Linked DNA regions of Homo sapiens: region 1 is linked to region 2. The links are contacts of gene promoters, found by promoter capture Hi-C in blood cells and fetal thymus (Javierre and others, 2016). All regions are on one chromosome and are shown on one strand. The core of a region is centred on a gene start or on the middle of the fragment in contact, and the rest is flanking DNA. Distances in the headings are between cores, read along the strand shown. Region 1 overlaps LINC03082 (long intergenic non-protein coding RNA 3082). Region 2 holds the start of MYO16-AS2 (MYO16 antisense RNA 2).

Region 1 (6,898 bases), core at 2,998-5,497, 1.0 Mb after region 2:
TCATAGAAAAGTAGGTGCAATGATTATTTTTGTGTGTCAACTTGACTGGGCCATGAGGTTCCAGATGTTTGGTCAAATACTATTCTGGGTGTTTTTATGAGGGCGTTTTTGGAAGAGCTTAACATTTAAATCAGTGGGCTCAGTAAGGCAGATGGCTCTGCCTAATGCAGTGGGCCTCATCCAAACAATGGAAGGCCTGAATATAGCAAAAAGGATTACCCTCCCCAAATAAGAGAATGCTCCTCCTGCCTGGCTGCGTTTGAACTATGATGCTGGGGTTTTTTTTCCCTGCCTTTGGACTAGAACAACACCATTGGCTCTCCTGGTTCTCAGGTCTTTGGACTTGGACTGGAAGCATGTCATCAACTCTTCGAGGTCTGCAGCTCACAAACTTCAGATCTTGGGACTTAGCCTCCATAATCACACAAGTCAATTCCTTATAACATAGACATAGATTAGACATAGATATACACATAGAGATAGATATAGATATAGATATATATAGATGATATAGATATATGTATAGTATGGATATAGATATAGATGATACAGATATAAACATAGATAAAGACAGGTATAGGTATAGGTATAGGTATAGGTATAATCTCCTACTGGTTCTGTTCCTCAGGAAAGCCCTGACCAACACAGTAAGGATATGAAAGAAAACCCATAGGGGAAAAATATATTTGGCCTTGAGATAGGCAAGGACTTCTTAGGACACAAAAAGCAAAAACACATTTTAAAAAATAAATATTTAACTTTATCAAGCTGAAAAACTTATACTCTCCAAAAGATGGTATTAAGAAAATGAAAAGACAAATTACAGACTGGGAGAAAATATTTGCAAAATTACATATCTGATAAAGAACTTGTATCTAAGAATATATGAAAAACCCTTGTAATTCAAGAAAAAGAAAAAAGAAGAGGAGGAGGAGGTGGAGGATGGGAGAAGGGGTTGGAGGAAAGGAAAAGTCATTTTTTAATGAGCAAAAGATTTGAAGATACACTTCACCAAATAAGATGGCAAATAAATGCATTAAAATATGCTTAATACATTTAGTCACTCAGGAAATGCATACTAAACTACATGAAATAACACTACACATTTACTAGAATGTATAAAATGTAGAAGATTGACCATGTCAAGTGTTGATATGAATGTGGAGGAACTGGAACTCTCACACATTGCTGGTGGATATGCAAAATGGTACAACCACTCCGAAAAATATTTTGGCACTTTATTAAAAGTAAAAACTACACTTAATGTTTGACCCAGCAATCCCACTTCTAGGTATTTGTCCAAGAGAAAGAAAAGCCTATTTCTATTCAAAGGCCCATATGTAAATATTTATACCAGATTTATTCATAACAGCTCAAAACAGAAAACAATTCAAATATCCATTCATGGGTGAATTCCTATACATGCTGTGGTATGTCCATTTCACAGAATCCTGCTCAGAAATGAAAAGGAAAGGACTACAATCTCAGAACCAGGTGGCTGCAAATCAAACACATCATGTGAAGTAAAAGAAGCCAGCACAAAGGACACCATATTGCATGGTTACATTTCTATACCACTCTAGAAAACACAAAACTAGGGTGAAGGAAATCTGGTCAGTAGCCACCAGGCACTGAGGGTCAGGGGGGCAATTGACTGCATGAGGGAAATGTTGGAAATGATGGAAAACTTTCCTACCTCAATTGTGGTAGTTGTTATGCAAGATACGCATTTATCAAAACTCATCAATCTCTGCACTTCAAAAGAGTGAATTTTAGTGTATGTCAACCATACTTCAATAAATTGACTTGAAAGTTTGGGTTTAATTGAATCCATTGACAAACAAGTTTCCCTCCAGTGTTGAAGACCTGTGTTTCTACTGTCAGGCCCACTCCGTCCTCCACAAGATGCACCTCCACCACCACCACCCCCACTGTGGATGGACACTTTATTCTTCAGATGTTACACCAGACATAAGCCAGAGCTATCCATGTCTTCTGTGTACCCAACTCAAGACCATTCTAGAAAATGCTCCCTTTGGCATCTCCAACCATTTCCATGGTTCTCTTGGGTGCTCCTATTCTATGAACACAACCTTCCCCATGATCTCAGCCTGGGTTCCCTAGGACTTGTCTCCCTGAAGAACCAGCTGTCCCAAAGCCCTGACAGGAGAAGTCTGCTCCTTTTCCTCACACCATGGGACCCCAGTCTGGATATGGAGATGATGTCTTCACACCTCCTCCTCCTCCAGCCTCTGAGGAAAGTCCATGTGGCCTTGACACCATGCAACCACTATTTTTCATCCATTACCCCCTTATTCCCTTTGCTCACCAAAGCACCGGCAGTGGACCCTCACTGTGCTGAACCAGATGTGGTCTCCACCTCGGGTGCTGCTGGGCTCTTGAGTGATTCAACTCCCTCACAAGCTTGGTGTCCAACACCTCTCAACCACGTGAACTCCTCATCCCTAATCACCTTAACCTCTGCTCCTTTTCAGCTTTTGACTTCGTGGCCATACTGAAGACCCTGGACCACCCAGGAATGTTGAATCTGTGATATCACAAATTAAAACTTCCATCTCTGATTGTAATTTCCTGTTCTCTCACGTCATTGCCTTCATTGTTCCTAGTTCTACAGTGTTCTCTGAATGTCCCACCCACTGCCTGCTCTACTGTCTCCCCATCAAGTAGCCTATCTGGAGTCCTGCTTTCCTTGGAGCCCGTGTCCCAACATGCCCCACCCCCATCTCCTTGACGATGACCCACCTCCCTTGTGTGGTTGTGTGCCTGTCCCACCTGCTTCACAAACCTCAACCAGCTCAGTCCTTGCCTACCCTCACTTTATACTATAAAATGTGCCAAAGTGACTTTGCTAATTTGAGATGTTGTAACAAATTGCCACAGACTGGGTGGCTTATCGTCAACAGAAATTTATTTCTCATGGTTTAGAAGGCTGGAAAACCAAATTTCAGATGCCAGTTTGGTCAAGTTTTGGTGAGGTCTCTTTTCTGGGTCCTAGAAGGCCAACTTCACCTTGAATCCTCACATAGTAAAAAGAGGGCAAGAGCTCTCTGGGGGTCCGTCTAATAAAGTCACTAATCCCATTCATCAGGGCCCATTCTCATGACCTAATCACCTCCCAAAGGCCCCACTTACTATTTATAATACCATCACCGTGGAGGTTAAGATCAAGATACAAATGTTAGGGAAGATTCAAACATTCAATCCACTGCACAGAGCAGACAGGATCTCCAAAAGTTCAGGGTCACCAGCCTCCACTGGGATCCCAAATCTGATCAACAGTTTGAGGACTCTCTCACACAAGGCACTGTGAGCTGGAAGTTTTCAGGAAATAGGGAAGAAGGTGATATCATAGCAACACAGACAGCTTGGGCTGAATGTGAGAATTCCCTGTGGCCAGGCGCCCTTTGAAGCTCACCTGAGTGCCTTCCTTGGCAGTGAGCGGCCTGCCTTCTGCAGCATTGCACTCGAACCTGATCGCCTCCATGAAGAGCAGCTTCAGCTCCTGGGGAGCATGCATGTAGGAGGCCCTCAGGAGCCTACTTTCCCTCTGAAAGTGACTGTCCACATAGTTCCTCAATGAAACATAGACCAACACCATCGCCATCCCTCTAAGAAATTCTCATGCAGATATTAAAATATTTTTTAAACTACTACTCTTGCTTATATCTTCCTAAACACTGCATGCGGGGTTGGTGACAGATGAGGGAGAAGCAGGACTACCTTTTTATTTGCCTCACCCATCCCTTACCTAGCACTTGGCATTGTGCTGTGGATCTGGCAGGCACTTATGGAAATGTGTTGGATAAATAGGGAGATGAATAAATGGATGCACAAACAACTAAGTGAGTGTGACCACCTCATGGAAGCTGCCGTGGTTTTAAACTATGTCCACCAATTCTTCAGGACCCCTCCCTTCACAGGGGGAGCCCAGCTCCCTCCCCTTCCGTGTGCAAGGCACTTCGAGATTCACTTCTGACAATTAGAATGTGGTGGAGGTGCTGATGTGTGACTTCTGAGATAGGATTAAAAGATCTTTGGCTCCCTGCTTCCTCCCCTTTTCAGATTGCTTGCTCTGGAAGAAGCCACCTGCCATGTCATGAGGAAGCTCAAGTAGCCCTGCAGAAAGGCCCATGTGGCAAAGAGCTGAGGCCTCCTGCCAATAGCCGTGGGTGATAGCCATGGTGGAGCCTTCAGATGACTGCAACCTTGGCTAACACCTTGACTCATGGAAGACCCTGAGCCAGAGCCACCCAGCTAAGCCTCTACCAGATTCCTAACCCATAGAAAATGTGAGACAATAACTGGTTGTTGCTTAAACTGCTAACTTGGGAGTAAATTTGTTTTTGTAGCAGTAGATAACTAACACAGAAACTAAGTGCAGAAATGATAAAAGGATAGTGCAAAGTTCGGAGAAAGAACAGGCCAACACTAAGAATAAGCCACTACTTCAGCTATGCTAGGAAATTTTGCCAATCCCAAGGGAAGTTGGGCTTATACCTGGATTACCCCTTCTCTGTGTGCCTAAAGCAGTTTACAAGCCGCCATTATGCCATCATATGATTCACCCATGCTGTGCTTCAATACTTCACAATTCTTTCATTCTTATAACACTGAATTCCAAGTTGAAGAACCGCATTCAGATTTTATTACATTGGGGCATCTGCCAAGCTACCTGCAACACAGTCGGGACCCAAATGAAAATTGTACCTGGTTTGCACAATTCCACGGAAACTAACTCCTATCTCCATATTTCTCTTTTCCCCAAATAAAATGAGTAAATACATCTTTTGTGACGAAAGAACTTCAGAAAGAATGGTGAAAGGAAAGAAAGCACTCAGATTTGGCATGCTAACTGTGCTTTCTTCACATCTACTCATGGCTGAGTTCCCTTCAATTTCTCCCTTCCACTCAGTCTCGGACACAGAGGTACATGCAAGCACTCATGCTTGCCCATGCGGCTTGTCACTCCCAACTGGAGCAGAGAGCAGTGCTTTTAGTTTCTCTTCTGCAGGTCTTTTAGAAGGCTCTGGAAAGCCTGGGGAATCCATGCTCCTTTGTGGAGGCAGCTGTCCTTGCTGATACTTTGCAATCCGACCACATCAGTGATTCACAGATGGTCTTAATATCTTATCAGCGTGAGCTCCCCATTGCAGAACCTTTGATCTCCTGGGGTGCAGGCTCACAGGCGCAGGACATCAACCCTGTACAGAGGCTCTGTCAAGCCCTGTCTCAGCCAAGGCTCGTGGGCAAGAGCTGATTATTGAAAACCTTAACATTCACCTCTCTCTCTAAATGCTTTTCATTTCTTTATTCACACCACACTTTTTTTAAGGTAAAAAAAAAATGTTCTCCTGTTTTACCTGTCAATTGAATATCTACCTCAGCCAATGATTACCTTGAGCACTGCAATCATGATTAACCATTGATTCATAGCTACCCTAAGAACATGAACCTATCCGGGGAAGTTAATTATGCCTCAGCCTGACATCTCTAAATTGGCACAACTACAGACAGTTCCACAAGAAAACTAAGGAGATGACTAAGGTTTTTAAGGAGAAATTAGATGATGAAATTAAACTATTTAGTCTGGAAATAAAGGTGATGAGGGCTATTTAATGCCTTCAAGGATCAGGAAACCTTCTATCATGGTTTGCACGGAGGACAGTCATGAGGAAGTGGGTTTATGTATTGGTGTGAGGAGGATGATGGTAATAACAGACCAGAGAGTGGGGTGCTTGAGGAAGCGCAGTGCCCAGAGAAATGCTGGAGACTCTTTCTCCGTTTAATTTTTTGACTTTTGTTTCTTATCATGGGGTAGTTGTAATATTATTAGATTAATACAAGCTCATGTTGTGTATTTTCCAGACACAAACTAATATGCTTGTGTGTGTGTGTGTGTGTGGCCTCCTTTTACAAACACTAGGGGATTACATTCTGTATACAGTTCTACAACTTGTTTTTTTTTTCCTTTAACAACATATCTTAGTCATGTGTATAGATGAGTATCTATAAACCTACCTTATTATCTTAATACTTAGATGTAGACTTAGGAAGCTTGGGTTTCCATCGTATATACAACACAGCTTATTTAACCATTGCTTTATTGATAAACCTTTATATTACTTTCACTTCTAATAGAACTCATGCCCACATCTTTACATACTTATATGAGTGTATCCATAGAATAAATCTCTAGAAAGGCAATAAATTCCTAGAAAATGAATAACTAGAAAAAAGCAGTTTATTTTTAACCCCTTATAACTTTAAATATGTGTATGTATATCTTCAGACTTATGTTTAAATAAGCCCAGAGCTTCCAAATTGAGCTGGCGTCAGCGTCTCCTGACAGGCTTGCTAAACGCAGATTGCTGGGGCTTAGCCCAGAGTTGCTAATTCACAAGGTGCAGGATGGGGCCCCAGAATCTGCACCTGTAACAAGAGCCCAGGTGATGGTGGTGATGGTGATGCTGCTGGTGCAGGGACCGCTGTCTGAGAACACCTGGATTAAGCCCTGCACCTGCCTGTGGGAGGAGGACAGTAACATCTCATCCATATCTGGGAGCCAGAGCTGGCGTTTTGTTTTTTGTTTGTTTGTTTCCAAATGCACTGGGTCTGTGATTGTGGGAGCCCACCTCAGGCTTCTCTGCCTGGGCCTTGCCAGGTGAGCGAGAAGCTGGTCCCGTGAGGAGCAGTCCAATCCGGCCCATGTTGCACAGCCTCGTGCCCAGGCCCTGGAGCTAGCAACTTGCCCGACACAGCCTGCTCCTTCCCAGAGGGCAGCCCCCATGCAGGCTGCTTCCCACGGTGTCTCAGCAGGTCCTCTGCAGATTTTTCCTCCCACCTTTTTTATGGTGTCCAAGACATGACCACAACCACC
Region 2 (6,826 bases), core at 2,717-5,216:
CTTGGTCAGTTCAATCTGCTTTCCCAAATTACCATAGACTGTGTGGCTCATGAGCAACAGAAAGTTCTCATAGTCCTGGAGGGTGGAAAGTCCGAGATCAAATTGTCAGCAAATTCAGTATTCAGTGGAAGCTCGCCTCCTGGTTTGGAGAGAGAACCTTCTTGTTCTCTCTATGAACTGTGTTCTCACATGGTGTTAGGTTAGTGCAAAAGTAATTGCGGTTCAGGCGTGAATATTAAATCATTATAACTAGAATCAAACACATCTTTATTAATCAAAATAGGAACCATTACAATGAACACATTTTTGCCAATGAGAAGTAAGTTTTGTTTATCCCTGTAGTGTAAAATTCTGTGCTTTGAGAATCGACAAACTCTTGGATAGCATTTTCTGCATCCCGCCACTTGCAGAAGCATTTTCCCTGCAAAAAGTTGTCGAGGTGCTTAAAGAGGTGGTAGATGGTTGGCAAGGGGTCAGGTGAATATGGTGGATGAGGCAAAACTTCATAGCCCAAGTCTTTCCACTTTGGTTGTGTGACGTGTTGTTGGGCGTTGTCATGGAGAAGAATTGGGCCCTTCCTGTTGACCAATACCGGCTGCAGGCGTTGTAGTTTTCCGTGCATCTCATCGATTTGCTGAGCATACTTCTCAGATGTAATGGTTTCGCTGGGATTCAGAAAGCTGTAGTGGATCAGACCAGCAGCAGATCATCAAACAGTGACATGACCTCTTTTTTGGTGCAAATTTGGCTTTAGGAAGTGCTTTGGAGCTGCTTCTTGGTCCAACCACTGAGCTGGTCATCACTGGTTGTCATATAAAATCCACTTTTGTCATACATCATAATCTGATCCAGAAACGGTTCATTGTTGTTGCATAGAATAAGAGAAAATAATACTTTGAAACTACATTTTTTTAATTCTCACTTAGTTCATGAGTCACCCACTTATCAAGCTTTTTCACCATTCCAATTTTCTTCAAATGTCAAACGACCCTAGAATGTTCGACCTTGAGTTCTTTGGCAACTTCTCATGTAGTTGTAAGACGATCAGCTTCGATGACTGCTCTCAGTTGGTCATTGTCAACTTCCAATGGTCAGCCACTGCACTCCTCATCTTCAAGGCTCTCGTCTCTTTAGCAAAACGTCTTGAACCACCACTGCACTGTATGTTCATTAGCAGCTCCTGAGCCAAATGCATTGTTGGTGTTGTGAGTTGCCTCTGCTCTTTTGTGACCCATTTGGAACCCAAATAAGAAAATCGCTCAAATTTGCTTTTTATCTAACATTATTCTCATAGGCTAAAATAAATATAAAATAAACAGCAAGTAATAAGTCATTCGCAAAAAACATAAAGCAAGAAATGCACACTAACATGATGTATAGCATAACCACATTTATTTAAGAATGTATTCCAATATCAAACGGCAAATTTCAACAATGCGAAAACCACAATTACATTTACACTGACCTAATAGGAAGGAATAAGTCTGTTCTCTTCAGCCTCCTCTAAGCGCACTAATCCCATTCATGAAAGCTCCACCCTCATGACTTAATCACCTGTCAAAGGCCCCACCTCTTAATATCATCATATTGGGGGTTAGGATTTGAACGTAGGGACCTTGAGATACATTCTATCCATGGCAGGTGTGTTTCCCAGCCTATGTTACACACCAGACTGTACTGCCGCACATGTGAGCCCTCGTTTACCCACAGTACCTGCCAAAATAAGACACACGTGTGATTCCCATGTGGCTGTCCATGAGACATGTCCCATACTCCCACTACTTGCTCTGAGGAAAGCAAGTAAATAAAGATGTGTAGGCAAAACACTCCCTCCCTTAATTGCACTAAGGAAACTGAATAAACTCATTTTAGAAGATACCAAATTTACTGCAGTGAACTTTAGATGAAACACTAAGGTATTAAACAGAAAATAACAGAAAACTGATGACTTCAGCTTTGGCATTGCGTTTCCTTCGGCTTGCGGAACAGCCGAACATGAGAATCATAAACACAGAAGGCAACAGGATGCAACTGCATAGATCTTTGCTCATTTCCTTTCTGGTTTTCTCCTCTTCCTCCTCCTCCATTGCAACCTTGCCTGTATCTCAGGTTAACCACTGTAAGTGCAAAGGGAATTTTACATAGATTTTTTTTAAATGGATGATGTAATTTTAAAAGTCATTTTTGAAAAACCTGTAGGAAACTATTATATTGCCATGAATTTCAGCTAGGGAATGAAAGTCAATTGCTCACTGATACTTTACAAAATAAAAATGTCCCAGAATATTTGAAATATTCGATATATAATATATGGGGAAGAAGCGATTCTACCTCTCAAATAAGTATTCTGAATGGACGTTTTGGTATTCCATTATTATGGACTCTAGTTACATCTGAATTCACGCTTAAGTGGCCATAAAGAATGCTCAAATTTCTTAAGAGGTATGTTTTTAAAGAGCATGCCAAATGTTTAAAAATGGCTACTGGATTAATTTTCATTCCTTTCAAATTTCCTTTGGTTAAATGGTTTGAAGTGCTTCATGACAGTGCTAAACATATATTAGAGGACTGAAAAATATATTTGACGCGTTGTAAAAACCATTTCCCTTATAAAAGATAAGGATTCTTTCCAGTTCCCTAGTAAATGCACAATGGACAGGTATTTGGCTGTTCCTGGGATAAAGAAAGACGGGGAAACTTTTGGGAAACGATGTAACAAAGACAGCCCTGTTGAATGTGATCATGTGCTTGGCAAATGCAGTCATTGCTTTCTGTCTCTGCTGCTTTTCACAGGTATAAGCCACTGGCTGATACATTCCTGCGTGAGAAGAAGGAACAGTCAGCTGCCGAGCGATGTCGACTTGTTCTCCAGCAGTGTAAATTACAAGGCTGGCAGGTTGGTGACCTACAAGCTATGAAAATAACATTTTAGGATTTTAAATAAATGAGCTGAGTCATTGCAGGGAGCCACCAGAATCTTCCTGGCAAAAACAAATTCCTTTGATGTGTTTGGCAAGGCGTGACATTAAGTGTATTCCCTGGAAATTTGTCATTCTTTATGACTTACCGATTTTAACATCTTGCAGCCAACATGAGAGGAAATCTAACAGGCTCCCTTTACAACATGACAGAAGCTTATGAGCCCCATTCTGTTTGCCCGTGTGTCAGATTCATACCTTGTCAGTAAAGCATTTTGTCATATTTACCCATAGCAGGAGTCAGAGGAGCCAAAATTGAAGAACTAAGGTTGATTTCTTTGTGCAGAGTTGGTCTCTCATAAGTGCATGTTCAACCTGGACTTCCCCAGCTCGTTCACGTCTCAGTCAGCTCCCCTTTTTTTCTGTTTCTCTTTGCCCTGCTTCTCACCTGCCATACAGTGAAAATGTCACCATCCTTTGAAGCCCATTTGTTGGCAAAAGCTTCATAATTGGAAACACTTTATTATAGTCTGTGATCCATTTGAATGGTAGACCCTAGGGGCCAATGAAAGCTACAGCTAGACTTGCAGAAAAAGAAAATAACCTGAGACAAAATTACAGGCAAATGTTTACCAGAAACAGGAGAAGATGGTTCCAGATTTTGTAAATACCTTCAACAACATCAGAGTCCATCCTTGACTCATTTTAGGAAGTAGAGGTTTGAAGTGAGAAGGGCAGATTAGAGCAACAATGGGAAACCACGCAGTCCATGACACCAGAAATTATTTGGAAGTTTCTTGCTGTAAAACCACCAAAAGTGCATAGGTGGCAAAAACAAATGGTAGCTAAAAGCTTTGATAAAAATATGACGATTACTGGAAAGTAGACATAAATTGCATCTTTAAAAAGTGATAGGGAGAATATCTATGAGTAAAAATATATGATAATTGATGAGTCAAAGGATGGGGACTTGGCTTTAGAAATGACATGAGCTGATGATTCAGAATTGCTGAATAGGTCCAAAAGTGGCCCAGTCTAAGTAAAACAGGGAGGGAAGACTGGATTGACACTCGCACACTCATCTGTCTATGACAAAGAACAAAGAACCTAGAATTTTGGCATTGATGAGTAATGATTTAATTGTCTGTGCCACCCAATCTTTTTCTTTGTTATCTTTTTTCCTTTTCTTTTTTTTTTAACTAATAATGAAATTTGAACTTTAAATAACAATCTGAAGGAGGAAGCTTACTCAGTCTGAAGTTGTCAGTGATGCACATCAGTGCCAAAAGATTGGATAAAAAGGGAAGGAGGAAGAAGGAGGAATTACTAACCAAAAGTGATGTCTGCCAACCCCTCCAGAGTCAGTGACATAGGGGTGGGATTCACATATATCAGCATTTATTCTGTCTATAGGTAACTGAAGTCAGTTCAATGGAATCATTACTGAGATTTTGAATAAGTAATTATATAGTAGTAGTCCACGGATGATGTAACACTAAGATATTCTTATTGTATTATTTTGCTTTTAAAGACTACTTACAGATAATGATATACATATATGTATATGTATGTGTATATATGTATATGTGTGTGTGTGTGTATATATATATATATATCTGTGAGATAGATGTATGTGTATGAGGGAGAGAGAGAGGGAGAATTTTTATTTGTAGAAGAAAGCAAGGGAATCTGTAATAATTATTTCACTAAGAGAGTGATTGGCAGTAACCACAATATCTGAGCAGTGGTCCCTCTGATAGACCACTGTAAAGTACAGGTCAAATATGAGAGGAGACCAGAAGACAAATTGGTAAGCCCTGCCAGCCATCATTTCTTCTATATTGGTGCTTTTGCTAGGATTGCAGCTGAGGATAGCATTAAATTGAAACATACATTGGGACTTTCAACAAGAGCATTAAAATTTATTTTAAATGGGAAAGGGATCCCATTTCATGGCACTAATCTATTTTCTCCACACTTTTCACCTGCCTAAAAGAAGCTGAAAACACAAGACAAAAAAATTAAAAGGAAAGAGAAATAAATGTGCTCATTCACTGAGTATATTTGCTTATGAGTTCCCTGTTGTCTAGTCAGAAAAGACAGTATTTCTTCAGCTTCTTCACGATGTAACCTATGATATACTTTATACTACCAGACAAATAATCAACTTCACAGAAATGAAGCATATTCATACTTCACTTTTATATTGGTCTGACAAAGGAAAAAAAGATTTTGTTAAAAAATAAATAAATAAAACAAAAAACACTCATTCCTAACCTGGAAAGTTAGACTCCTCAGTTTCAAAAGCAAAGCATTTTTTAGATATGTGTTGCTAATTACAGAAAGAATTCCTCCTAGTCAATTCTGTTTTTAATTAATACAGGGATTCAATCAGAAGCTGTTAGGCTGCAGGGACAACAAGGTTGTATCGGATGGTTATTCTATCTGTAGCATTATTTCCAAATTGCTAAGAGTTATAATGTGTGTTTTCATTAACCAGTCAGTTCATCCTTTAGTCCTGAGTGGTTAGCATGAAATGAATGGTTACTCTTTTCCATATTTTTAAAAGCAGTGCTGGAGGACAGAAGTGATTAGAATTATATTTTGCTGTGTTAAGTGGTATACAGTGTTAGCTAGAAATTCATTTCTTTTAACTGAAAATAGTAATTTCGTTGTCATTCTAATGCGTCTTGGAGATCTGGCAGGTTTTCTCTTCTCTCTTTAACTTTAATCAGACCCTGTAGAAGGAAAGCCTTGAATCATCAATATGAGATGGTAACTCTGTAATTCTTATACTCTCCAACATTGTAGCAATTCAGTAAGCCTTGGTGCACATTTGATTTCCTTCTGTTTCAGATGAGGATAGAGATGTGGTATCTTCAGTACTATTACTTTTGTATGCCGATCTATGCACCTGTGTCTGCTTTTCATGCTTTAGGTAGTCACAGGTTTGTAGTCGCACATGAGGTACTGGAATTTTTAGTATTTAATAAAAAATAATTCCTCTCATCTACAGAGTATATTACAACTATTCATAGTTTTTATTTTATTTTATTTGAGCCTAATAACTCTATGCAGAAAAGGAAAGTAGACAGCACGTACAGGAGTGACCTTATTTTAGATTTGAGGTAATGGAACGTCACAGAGAGCCCTTGTCTTAATTAGAGATCAGTGTACTGATCAAAATACTAGGTGCAGTTAATATTCAGTTTCAGTGGGAGTGCCACTTTGCTGAGACCAACGTCTAGCTTTTCCTATGTCATGTTCTTTCCACTGCATTTAACTCAATCTGTATCTTCTAATATAACTATCTGAAGTCATTTTGCTCATATTACAGGACTTGGAAGGGGTAGATTATGCATCACAGTACAAGCTTTGATCAAAGGCACTTATACCGTTTATTCATCTGAGCAGCCTGCCCCTTGTACAGTGTCTTTTTTATGTTTATAATTCACCCAGCAAATGAAGGAAAAACAAGCAGACTACTTCCCATTACAGGGTGACTCTGATCAGAATCCTTTTCAACCCAAACTGTCAATCAAACTGACCCTGAAATAGCACAATGCCTTTGCACCCTCATTCCCAACTACATCTTGGAAACAAGAGGAGAAGGAAAAGGAGGAGTAAGGAAAGGAGACGATAGAGAAGGAGAAGAACTGGAATCAAGTGAAGAGTCTCAGGAAGCATTTGATGTCAATTCTAATTCTGAGGGTTAAGACCTAGATGTGACTCAGGCCATCCAGAGGAAAGGACAGGGGTGGGGGCAACTCATAGGCGGTGCTGGTGGAAATGCATGTCAAAGGAGCATCGCTGCACCTTCGCAGCTAGAGCAAAGGCAGTTTGAAAACAGTTTATTAGGCTATTCCGCAGATCCACACAGTTTACAGTATACCGAGTTTTGCTCACGT

Evidence for each region. The method cuts DNA at HindIII sites, captures the fragments that hold promoters and counts their contacts. A CHiCAGO score of 5 or more calls a contact.
Region 1: a fragment that was not itself captured here is called in contact with the fragment with the promoter of MYO16-AS2 in region 2 in 3 of 17 cell types (fetal thymus, M0 macrophages and megakaryocytes); the score reaches 6.3 in fetal thymus.

What each region holds. Positions count from the first base shown.
Region 1 is chr13:110,098,168-110,105,065 of GRCh38, forward strand. All of the region lies in intron 1 of LINC03082 (long intergenic non-protein coding RNA 3082), which reads right to left. Among named protein-coding and RNA genes, the nearest start is that of LINC03032, 20 kb to the right of the region's middle. The HindIII fragment of the contact is 3,651 bases long and covers 2,423-6,073 here.
Region 2 is chr13:109,097,992-109,104,817 of GRCh38, forward strand. MYO16-AS2 (MYO16 antisense RNA 2) reads right to left here and starts at 3,967. Exons shown (of 3, transcript NR_046538.1): 1 at 3,552-3,967; 2 at 3,207-3,366; 3 at 2,564-2,818. It overlaps MYO16 (myosin XVI), which reads left to right. Exons shown (of 35, transcript NM_001198950.3): 28 at 2,794-2,896. RefSeq lists an enhancer at 2,459-3,658. The HindIII fragment of the contact is 392 bases long and covers 3,769-4,160 here.